Linked DNA regions of Homo sapiens: regions 1 and 2 are each linked to region 3. The links are contacts of gene promoters, found by promoter capture Hi-C in blood cells and fetal thymus (Javierre and others, 2016). All regions are on one chromosome and are shown on one strand. The core of a region is centred on a gene start or on the middle of the fragment in contact, and the rest is flanking DNA. Distances in the headings are between cores, read along the strand shown.

Region 1 (2,928 bases), core at 415-2,914, 1.4 Mb before region 3:
ATATTTTTAAGTTATTAAAATTCACACAGATTGCTAAGAACTAGCACCAGGACCAGTCTTGAAAACAATGGGCAACTGGCCTGAACAGCTCATTTCTAGAATGTATTAAATGTCTAATTAACACATAAAAAACTCCAGCCTCGCTAACATATAAAGGCACAATAAATAATAATTTAATTAACTTGACCCATCCCAATAGTAAGGATGTGAAATAATAACTTCTCAGTGCTAGCAGGGATTAGGTGAGGGCACCTCCATTGAGGGTGTGATGGATTCAACATTTCAGGAAGGGACTGTAGAAATATGCTGATACTAGGTCGGGCATGGTGGCTCACACCTGTAATCCCAGCACTTTGGGAGACCAAGGCAAGCAGATCATTGAAGCTCAGGAGTTCGAGACCAGCCTGGCCAACATGGTGAAACCCTGTCTCCACTAAAATACAAAAATTAGTTGGGCATGGTGGCACGTGCCTGTAATCTCAGCTACTCAGGAGGCTGAGGCAAGAGGAAAATCCTTTGAACCCTGGAGGCGGAGGTTGCAGTGAGCCAAGATTACGCCACTGCACTCCAGCCTAGGCGACAGAGTGAGATTCCGTCTCAAAAAAAAAAAGAAAAGAAAAGAAATATGCTTATACCATTTGATCTGATGACTCTATTTCTGGAAATTTATTAAACAGTTTATCAGGACATTATCCAATTTGCAAATAAAGACTTATATATAAAGTGTATTATTTACAATAGGAAAAAAATCCCAAATGTCCCACAATCATGGCAATTATACAACTATTAACAATATTTTGAGTTACACAAAAAGTCTAATTGATTGCTTTTATGATATACATAAGCATAAAATAAATCTTGGAAGGACTATGCCAAAATGTGAATTGAGGCTATCATTAGTTAGTAGATTAAGTGTGACCTCCATTTTATAAAAATATTTTTCTGTATTTTTAAATTTTTTCATAACAATGAGAGGTAGGTTTAGTATAAATTAAGGAATTGTAGGCCTCATGATGAGTTGCTTCAAAAGAAATAATTGTCAGGGAGGCAACTTTTGGGCCCTGTAAACAGAATTCACAGCCTACCCTTAAGACTGGCCTTTAATGGAGTTGTTCCAACAGACACAGCACCTAAGGTGGACGGACGCTCCAATAACGAAGATGGCTATAGACAGAGGCTACTGCTACCTTGGCCTCTGGGCTTTCATTTTTCAACCCGCAGAAATAATAATAGAATAACAATTTATCCTCCGCTGAGTTCCTACTATGTGCTAAGCACTTTACCTGCTTAATCTCACTTAATCCTCCCAACACCTCTTCAAGAAAGGTATGATCAATATTATTACCATTTTAGAGATCAAAGAACTGAGGCTTGGAAAGAGGAAATAACTGGCTGAAGCCATCACATCTCATTTGTGTGTTTCCTTGCCTCTCTTCTCTTTTTCTCTTTTCTGCCTTTCATTTGGTCCAGCTCATCAATGCATATCTTGATTTCTGAGCTGAAGACCACAAATCCAGTTTTCCATCTCTCTGAAAAACTTTTCATCTCCCTTTTTTTTTTCCTCAGAGTGAATATACCAGGCCACCTGGAGGCAGGCTTTCCTGAGAGCACCTCCCGCTTCCTTTTCCTGCTGGCTTTTAACTTTTGCCCCGGGGGCCACAGCCAGCTTTCTCACTTGGTAGCAGTGGCCTCTTGTGCCTTTTTCTCCAAGATCACCCAGGTCAGTATGTGTGGTTACTCTCAGCTCCCTGAGGGAGTGAGCAGCCAGAGGGGCATAGCATACTTCTCTCCCTCCAGCTCCTTTCTCCTTGGTCCTAGGCCCTCTACTCTTCAAGCCCTTTTGCTTGCTTCAGCTCCTGCTTCTTGCTCCATCTCCTCCCATCTTTTCTCTCTTCTCCAATTCATTTCCTTGGACTCCATTTCTGCCTTTATACCCTTATCTTTATTATCATTGCCAAAAGCAAATACCAAATTCTTGTATTTGAAAAAAGACTTTGGCCAGGCACGGTGGCTCACGCCTGTAATCCCAGCACTTTGGGAGGCCAAGGCGGGTGGATCACGAGGTCAGGAGTTCGAGGCCAGCCTGGCCAACGTGGTGAAACTCCGTCTCTACTGAAAATACAAAAAATAGCGGGGCATGGTGGTGCGCGCCTGTAGTCCCAGCTACTCCGGAGGCTGAGGCAGAACAATCGCTTGAACCCAGGAGGCTGAGGTTGCATTGAGCCGAGATCATGCCACTGCACTCCAAGCTGGGCAACAGAGCAAGACTGTCTCAAAAATAAATAAATAAATAAATAAAAAGGAGACTTTTTTTTTAGTGCAGTGATTCCAAGATTTGTTCATCGATATGCAACCAACTAATGAGTGTTATGCCTCACAGTTCCCTTCTCCTAAGTTTTAGAGTTAGAGTAGTGGGTGGGAAGGTGATAACCACAGTGTAAACTAAAAATCCATACTGGGGATGGAGGCTGAGAGGAGGTTTCAGGGGCAAATGACCAGAACACTTGCAGCTGGAAAGAACTGTAGAGAGGACTTTGGAAAGCGGAGGGTTGACAGAGCCGGTAGTTGTCTCCTGTCCATTCATCTCCTAGGCTGAAGCTCCTGAGGGGACTCACATCAGTTATCTTGCTGCTCCAGAAGGGTGGGAGATGGCAGTTTTCCCAAGCTCCGGTCTCCCCAGATGTCTGCTCACCCTCATTCTCCTCCAGCTGCCCAAACTGGATTCAGGTAAGTCTCTCTCTCTCTCTGGGCTGCATAGTTGAAATATATCAATAAATGTAAAATAAACAATCCCACTTGGCTCTCCCTGGAGACCTCCACTGGATCCAGACAAACTCAGCTGTCAAAGGAGTAAGAGAGCGCGGGGCACTGCGCTTTGGCGGGAATCTGGTCGGTGTCTGTCCGTAGTTCCCATCTCCACATCCCGTC
Region 2 (3,113 bases), core at 330-2,829, 1.2 Mb before region 3:
CTTATAGATGGAAAACCTGATGCTTAGGGCAGTTAGATAATCACCCAACAACTTACAAATAGTAAGCAGCAGAGCCAGGATTTCAATACCTATCTTCTGACTCCAGAGCCTGCCTAAGCATTAGGCATACTACCCTCTTTGTGCTACAAATCAATCAAAAAGCAATTACTGCAAGCCTAATGTGAATATGCATGCATGTTGAAAAGGAGTAGAAAATAGCCTTAAGTTGGTAGGATAGGGCTCAGTTTTATCACTCTGCTATCTTAGGAGCTAAGAAAGGGGCATTCTCTTTTTCCATATATCTTCTCCCATACTTTCCTGTCTTTCACCCTGCCCCACCCCACACCCCCATCCACATTTATACAGAAACAGAGCCTGGTATACCACTTACCGTAACAAGAAAGACTCAAGACCATCTTCCTTTTGGTTTCAAAAGGTCTCTAGTTCAGAACTATTCACAACACTCAATTCTTGCCTCTCCTAGAGGAAAAATCAATAATGTAGACGATGACCTTGTGAAATTTATAATTCATAATTTTTCTAGAGCTGGCCTAGAAAACTGGTCCCATTTCCTCTCCATTCTAGTGAGCATCCTTCAACCATAGCTTACCTCTTCCCATCTTTGCTTACACTGTTTCTCCTGCAGGAAGTACCTGCCACTGGTAGCCATCAGTTCCGACCAGCTCTAGACAAAATGTCAAGAATCTTTCTATTACTAACTGTAACTTCATAACAAAGCCCTAAGCCTCGTTTTTCGTTTGTTTTTTCTCCTTCTGCTAATTGTTTTTGTTTGTATTATCTCAACTCCTAAGATCAAAGACCCATTCGTCTACCACTACAAACCCCAAAGTGCATGTGATAAGTGTATATAATATAAAGTTATCTGTAATTCCATTTTCCAAAAAGAAATGGTTATAGGAAGATTAAACAAACCAGATTTTTCTGCAGATAGATTCAACTGCAACATAACTAATTTCTGCACTGAAGATGAAGCGAAAAATCCATTCAAGGTCCTTTTTTTCCTCGATATATATGAAAGATTATATTGCTTTGAAAAGTGCCTTGCAGTGTTTACTATCTCTAGGAACTACCGTACTAAGGTTCTCTTCTTTCAACTTTTCATTGACCATCTTTCAGTCCTCCGTCCGCCGTCAGCGGAGACCAGACCATGCTCAGTGTCCAGGAACAGGGGCTGCTCCCACTCGACTGTGGCCGTGGGTCTTGGGTCCCACCGCGCACCCATCCCACCCCTGGGCCCCGCAGGCCGCGCTTACCCTGGCAGCCGCCGGCGCCGCCCCTAGGCCTGGGGACAGCACTTCCGGTTACTCTCCGGACACTCGAATCTGGGCTTCCTGGCGGCCGCAGACTCTGCGATAGTAGATCTAAGGGCCAGGCTTCGGGAAGGAAAGAAAAGCGAACCCGGCACGGACAAGACCTAGGAGCAACTCCCTTCGTGCGCCTAGACTAGAGGAGTTGGGGCCAGGCCGCCCACAGAGCGCTTTAACAGAGCGCTTCAAGGGCCCACAAGGCCGGCTACGCAAACCCTTTCAAGCTGGCTGGGAAGAGGCCGGCGCAGCCCCACCCCCGCAAGTCACATGATCACCCCTCTCCGGCCACTAGGGCGTTCCAACCCCGGCCCCTGGGCCAATAGGAGCCGAGTCTTCGGAAAGGGGCGGGGCCCGGGGCGCCTGCGCTCTGGGAGCCCTCGGCGTTTTGGTGGGAGGGGGTCTTGCTGGCGCAGTGGAAGGCCGGCTGCGGGGGGAGGCGATCGCTGCCACCCTGTCTAAGAAGAAACGGCACCAACAGCGTTGCAGTTTATGTTACAGTTTCCCCAAGGCTGTTAACCGAGGACTCAAACCAGGAGTAGAGTCACAAAGATTAGATGCCACTGACCCTGAGAGAAACACCAGGAAAGATCTGGGAGAGATAGAGGATTCTGAAGCACAGTGGCAGCGCTGTCATCCACGAAGATGTGGCCAGCGAGATGGAAGAAATGCTTTTAAAAGTGGTGGACTTGTGTGGGTGGAGAAAACAGCAGCGAGAGAAAGTACTGTGGGAGGTTCCCCAGTCCTTGCTGATTATGTTTCTGATTTGGAATCAGCTAAGAGTAAATCACCTAGTGGTGGGGCTGGAACAGAACTCAGTTCTTTAGGTTGAACACTGGGTATTCTCCCAGCTCAATTGTTAAATTAAAAAAAACAAACCAACAAAAAACAGTTTTTAAATGTCCTCAGCTATCAAAGGGAAAAGATGAGTAGTAGGAATATGGAAAACTAAACCCTGGGCAGCCTGGCCAAGGACTTGGATTGTGAGCCAGTTGCTGAGGTTTAGTAATTGGGGAGCGCAGTCTCTGAGACACGTATTCAGTATTAACTAATCATGTTCCTACTAGTGGAATTCTTCCGCAGAGGGTCTACAGCTTATTCTACTTTCATGTTTATTTTTAATGAAACTTTCAAGGTCAAAATATTCCACTCAGGGTTGTCTTAATATTTTGAATAATAACATTTTGAGTGTGTAGCATGTATCAAACACTGTTCTAATAACTTTACACTATTGTCTCATTCAGTTGTAACAAAAATCGTGTGAGATATGTATTCTTTTAGGAGGAAACTGGTGCACAGAGAGATTAAGTAGCTTGCCCAGGATCACATATTACTGATGAAGCTGTAATGTGAACAGTCTGATGCCAGATTCTGTGCTTGCAGTCACTATACTTATGGCTACCTCAATAGTGGTGAGTGTATTGTGTAAAATTATTGGAATAAAAATTAAGCAAGTTGGATTCTGATCTCTGCACTGCATATAACAAGGTCTGAATATGTGTAGAATTGAACTGTTCAACCTTTTCTTTCAGGATACATTGGCCCAAAGTACTCTTTATTAATTGTTTTATTCAGTTAAACATTTATTGAGCACCTCCAATTAACAGGACACCATAGGCCGGGCACGGTGGCTCACGCCTGTAATGCCAGCACTTTGGAAGGCTGAGGCGGGTGGATCACCTGAGGTCGCGAGTTTGAGACCAGCCTGACCAACATGGTGAAACCCTGTCTCTACTAAAAATACAAAATTAGCCAGGCGTGGTGGCGCATGCCTGTAATCCCAGCTAC
Region 3 (3,105 bases), core at 510-3,009:
ACAGATATGAGGCTGAGCTGGCTGAGAGCACTAGGGAGAAAAATTGCCTTCACATCTCTGCCAGATATCTCCTAGGTCAAGATGTGTGCTTCAAAAAGTTTAAGAGCAAAATGAGGTCATGATAGTCACATATGTAGAGCACATGAGGAAACTCTAAAACAGCTGGAAATAATGGAAAAGTTTGGTTAGAAACCAGGAAGAGCTTTAAAATACCACTTGAAGTTTAATACCCAGACTGATTCTCTCTGAAAAAAAAAAAGAAAGAAAAAATCTCATGAAAATCCAACTCCACAGTCTATGACAAGCATATGGTGAAATGACAGGAAAATATTTTTTAAGGTCCACTTAGAGCTAGAAGTTCATTTCATAGATGACAGCATGCAGTAGGTTAAAGTATCCCTCCTCAGAGGCCCACTACCTAACACATGGCTTGCTAAACATTACATTGAAACAGAACAAAAGTGTCGAGCTTTTTGTCAAAACTGTTACTTGCATGGGGTACGATGGCAACTTTGTTATGTGCATATGCTCCAAGGTGGTCAAGTTACATGGGCTATACAAGAGCTAAATAGCTTACATTGTACCAATTAAGTAACTTATCATTCATTCTTTCCTCCCTTCTGAGTCCTTATTGTCTATTGTTCCACTCTCATGTGTGTAGTTTTTAGAGCCTGTTGTTTTTTGTATTTTTGAGGCGGAGTCTCGCTCTGTAGCCCAGGCTGGAGGGCAGTGGCGCGATCTCGGCTCACTGCAACCTCTGCCTGCCAGGTTCAAGCGATCCTCCTGCCTCAGCCTCCCGAGTAGCTGGGACTACAGGCGCGTGCCACCACGGCCGGCAGTCTTTTTTTTAGTGGACAGGGGGGTTTCACCGTGTTAGCCAGGATGGTCTTGATCTCCTGACCTTGTGATCCGCCTGCCTCGGCCTCACCAGAGCCTGTGGACACTCATTGTGCTACTTGTTCCCTTCAGTAGGGGCAGGTAGATACGCAGGAGACACATTCCTCAAGGATAAAAACAGGAATACTTTTCAAAACTAAACTTCATCTGTAAAATTGACCCCATGACATGTCTTTTTTGAGTGATAATCCTTATCAGTAGGAACAGGTTCTGTATGTGAAATTGATTTAGCATACCAACAGCCTGTGACCTGACTCCTGCATTATAGTGTGTTGGGCCACTACCACGTTTTGTCCACAGCTTGTATTTAACATGGAGCTAAGACACGTCTCAAAAGCTACAGCTTCCTTTTGGTGACAATTGAGGGGCTCTGAAAAGAGCCTTTTGGGGTTGGACAGACTTCTTGGGCTGATAGGAATATTTATGCCCTCTCCCCTCGGATGCGGCGCGCAAGCTGGATGTCTTTAGGCATAATAGTGACGCGTTTGGCGTGAATGGCGCACAGGTTGGTATCCTCAAATAGCCCCACCAGGTAGGCCTCGCAAGCCTCCTGCAGCGCCATCACCGCCGAGCTCTGGAAGCGCAGATCGGTCTTAAAGTCCTGTGCGATCTCCCGTACCAAGCGCTGAAAAGGTAGCTTCCGGATTAGCAGCTCGGTCGACTTCTGGTAGCGGCGGATCTCGCGCAGGGCCACGGTGCCGGGGCGGTAGCGGTGGGGCTTCTTGACGCCACCGGTGGCCGGAGCGCTCTTGCGAGCCGCCTTGGTGGCCAGCTGCTTGCGCGGCGCTTTGCCGCCGGTGGACTTGCGAGCTGTTTGCTTTGTTCGTGCCATGGCTAAGTAGACGTACCTACTCAACACAAATGAGAGAAAAAAACTGATCATCCCGGTATTTATAGCTGCCCTCGCGTTCTGATTGGACAGTAGACTGTGCCATGCCACGTCTCACACACGGAATTGGCTCCCAGTTTAATCTGCTAGTGAAAGGGAGACATTCCGCCTCTGTTTTGGGTCAAGAAACGTAAAATGGTTTTGCTAGCTAAAGAAAAACAAAAACGGAAACAAAAAAAAATCCCCCAAAAGTCTAGGATTTTTCATGCATCAAAATCCTGTTTAAATATAAGCTTGATAAATCTAAACTTGCCTTGCACTATTTTAATTACGAGGTGTCATTACTGATTTGACAAAAAGTTAAAGAACGTAAAGGAAAAGTGAAACTAGAGTAAATTTGTAAATGGAGGCATTGAAGGGGATATGAAATTCGAGCGTTGTGGTATGCCAGTATTTCTCAAATTTAAACGTACTTAATGTTTTAGAAGTTGGCCGACTTTTTCTGTAAAGGGCGATATTAAAACATTTTGGGCGTTGCGGACCACAGTGTCATAGTTACACAGCCCTCGCATTGGTAGCGGTAAAGTAATCGATACAAGATAAATGAGACCGGCTGTTTCATTATGACTTTTGCAAAAACCAGAGAGGCGTTATAGATTTGGCCGTGTATCAGAGAAGCCGGCACTTTTAACCACTAAGTAATGCTGAAAGGGGCACCGAACCTCAAACTTCAGCGACTGCTTATGTGGAATCGCTAATTTGCCAAAACTGCCATACGTTTAAGTGTTCTTAAGAAATTAACTATCTTTAGTCTACAGCTCTTTCACAGACTTCATGGGTGGCCCTGAGAAGGGCCTTTGAGGAACCGTGTAAGTAAGTAAAACACTCAGCCGCCAAAGCCATACAGGGTGCGGCCCTGGCGCTTGAGCGCGTAAACCACGTCCATGGCTGTGACTGTCTTGCGTTTGGCGTGCTCCGTGTAGGTAACTGCATCGCGGATTACATTCTCCAAAAACACTTTAAGAACTCCGCGTGTCTCCTCGTATATAAGGCCTGAGATGCGCTTAACGCCTCCACGCCGTGCCAGGCGTCGGATGGCGGGCTTGGTGATGCCCTGAATGTTGTCGCGCAGAACTTTGCGGTGGCGCTTAGCGCCTCCTTTGCCCAGACCCTTCCCGCCTTTGCCGCGCCCAGACATGTCTTGTACTAAACAAAATGCAACACGGCAAGCCTCGCAGCAGTACTTTATATAGTAATAAATCGGACCTGATTGGGAACTCTCCACACCAGCTGCATCCGGTCGGCCGATTCACAGACCTTGCGCCCTGCCCACGACTTCAGGAAAAAATGGAAAAGGGGGTACTTAAACTCCAGTTTCT

Evidence for each region. Contacts are between HindIII fragments. The CHiCAGO score rates a contact against its expected background, and 5 or more counts as called.
Region 1: the fragment with the promoter of BTN1A1 here is called in contact with the fragment with the promoter of H3C11 in region 3 in 2 of 17 cell types (monocytes and M0 macrophages); the score reaches 8.7 in monocytes.
Region 2: a contact is called between the fragment with the promoter of ZNF322 here and the fragment with the promoter of H3C11 in region 3, in 1 of 17 cell types (monocytes). The highest score is 12.4, in monocytes.

The regions. Positions count from the first base shown.
Region 1 is chr6:26,498,639-26,501,566 of GRCh38, forward strand. It overlaps BTN1A1 (butyrophilin subfamily 1 member A1), which reads left to right and starts at 1,665. Exons shown (of 8, transcript NM_001732.3): 1 at 1,665-1,720; 2 at 2,592-2,727. The coding sequence starts at 2,649. The region is part of intron 1 of LOC107986583 (a long non-coding RNA gene); the gene reads right to left. The HindIII fragment of the contact is 5,298 bases long and covers 1-2,928 here.
Region 2 is chr6:26,658,167-26,661,279 of GRCh38, forward strand. ZNF322 (zinc finger protein 322) reads right to left here and starts at 1,580. Exons shown (of 4, transcript NM_024639.5): 1 at 1,275-1,580; 2 at 392-480. RefSeq lists enhancers at 1,010-1,510, 1,231-1,280, 1,291-1,480, 1,511-2,011, 1,711-1,770 and 1 more. The HindIII fragment of the contact is 5,113 bases long and covers 1-3,113 here.
Region 3 is chr6:27,870,587-27,873,691 of GRCh38, forward strand. H3C11 (H3 clustered histone 11) reads right to left here and starts at 1,760. Exons shown (of 1, transcript NM_003533.3): 1 at 1,259-1,760. The coding sequence starts at 1,729. The coding sequence ends at 1,319. It overlaps H4C13 (H4 clustered histone 13), which reads right to left and starts at 2,948. Exons shown (of 1, transcript NM_003546.3): 1 at 2,562-2,948. The coding sequence starts at 2,924. The coding sequence ends at 2,613. RefSeq lists enhancers at 1-594, 2,510-3,105, 2,579-2,628, 2,929-3,098. The HindIII fragment of the contact is 2,761 bases long and covers 1-2,017 here.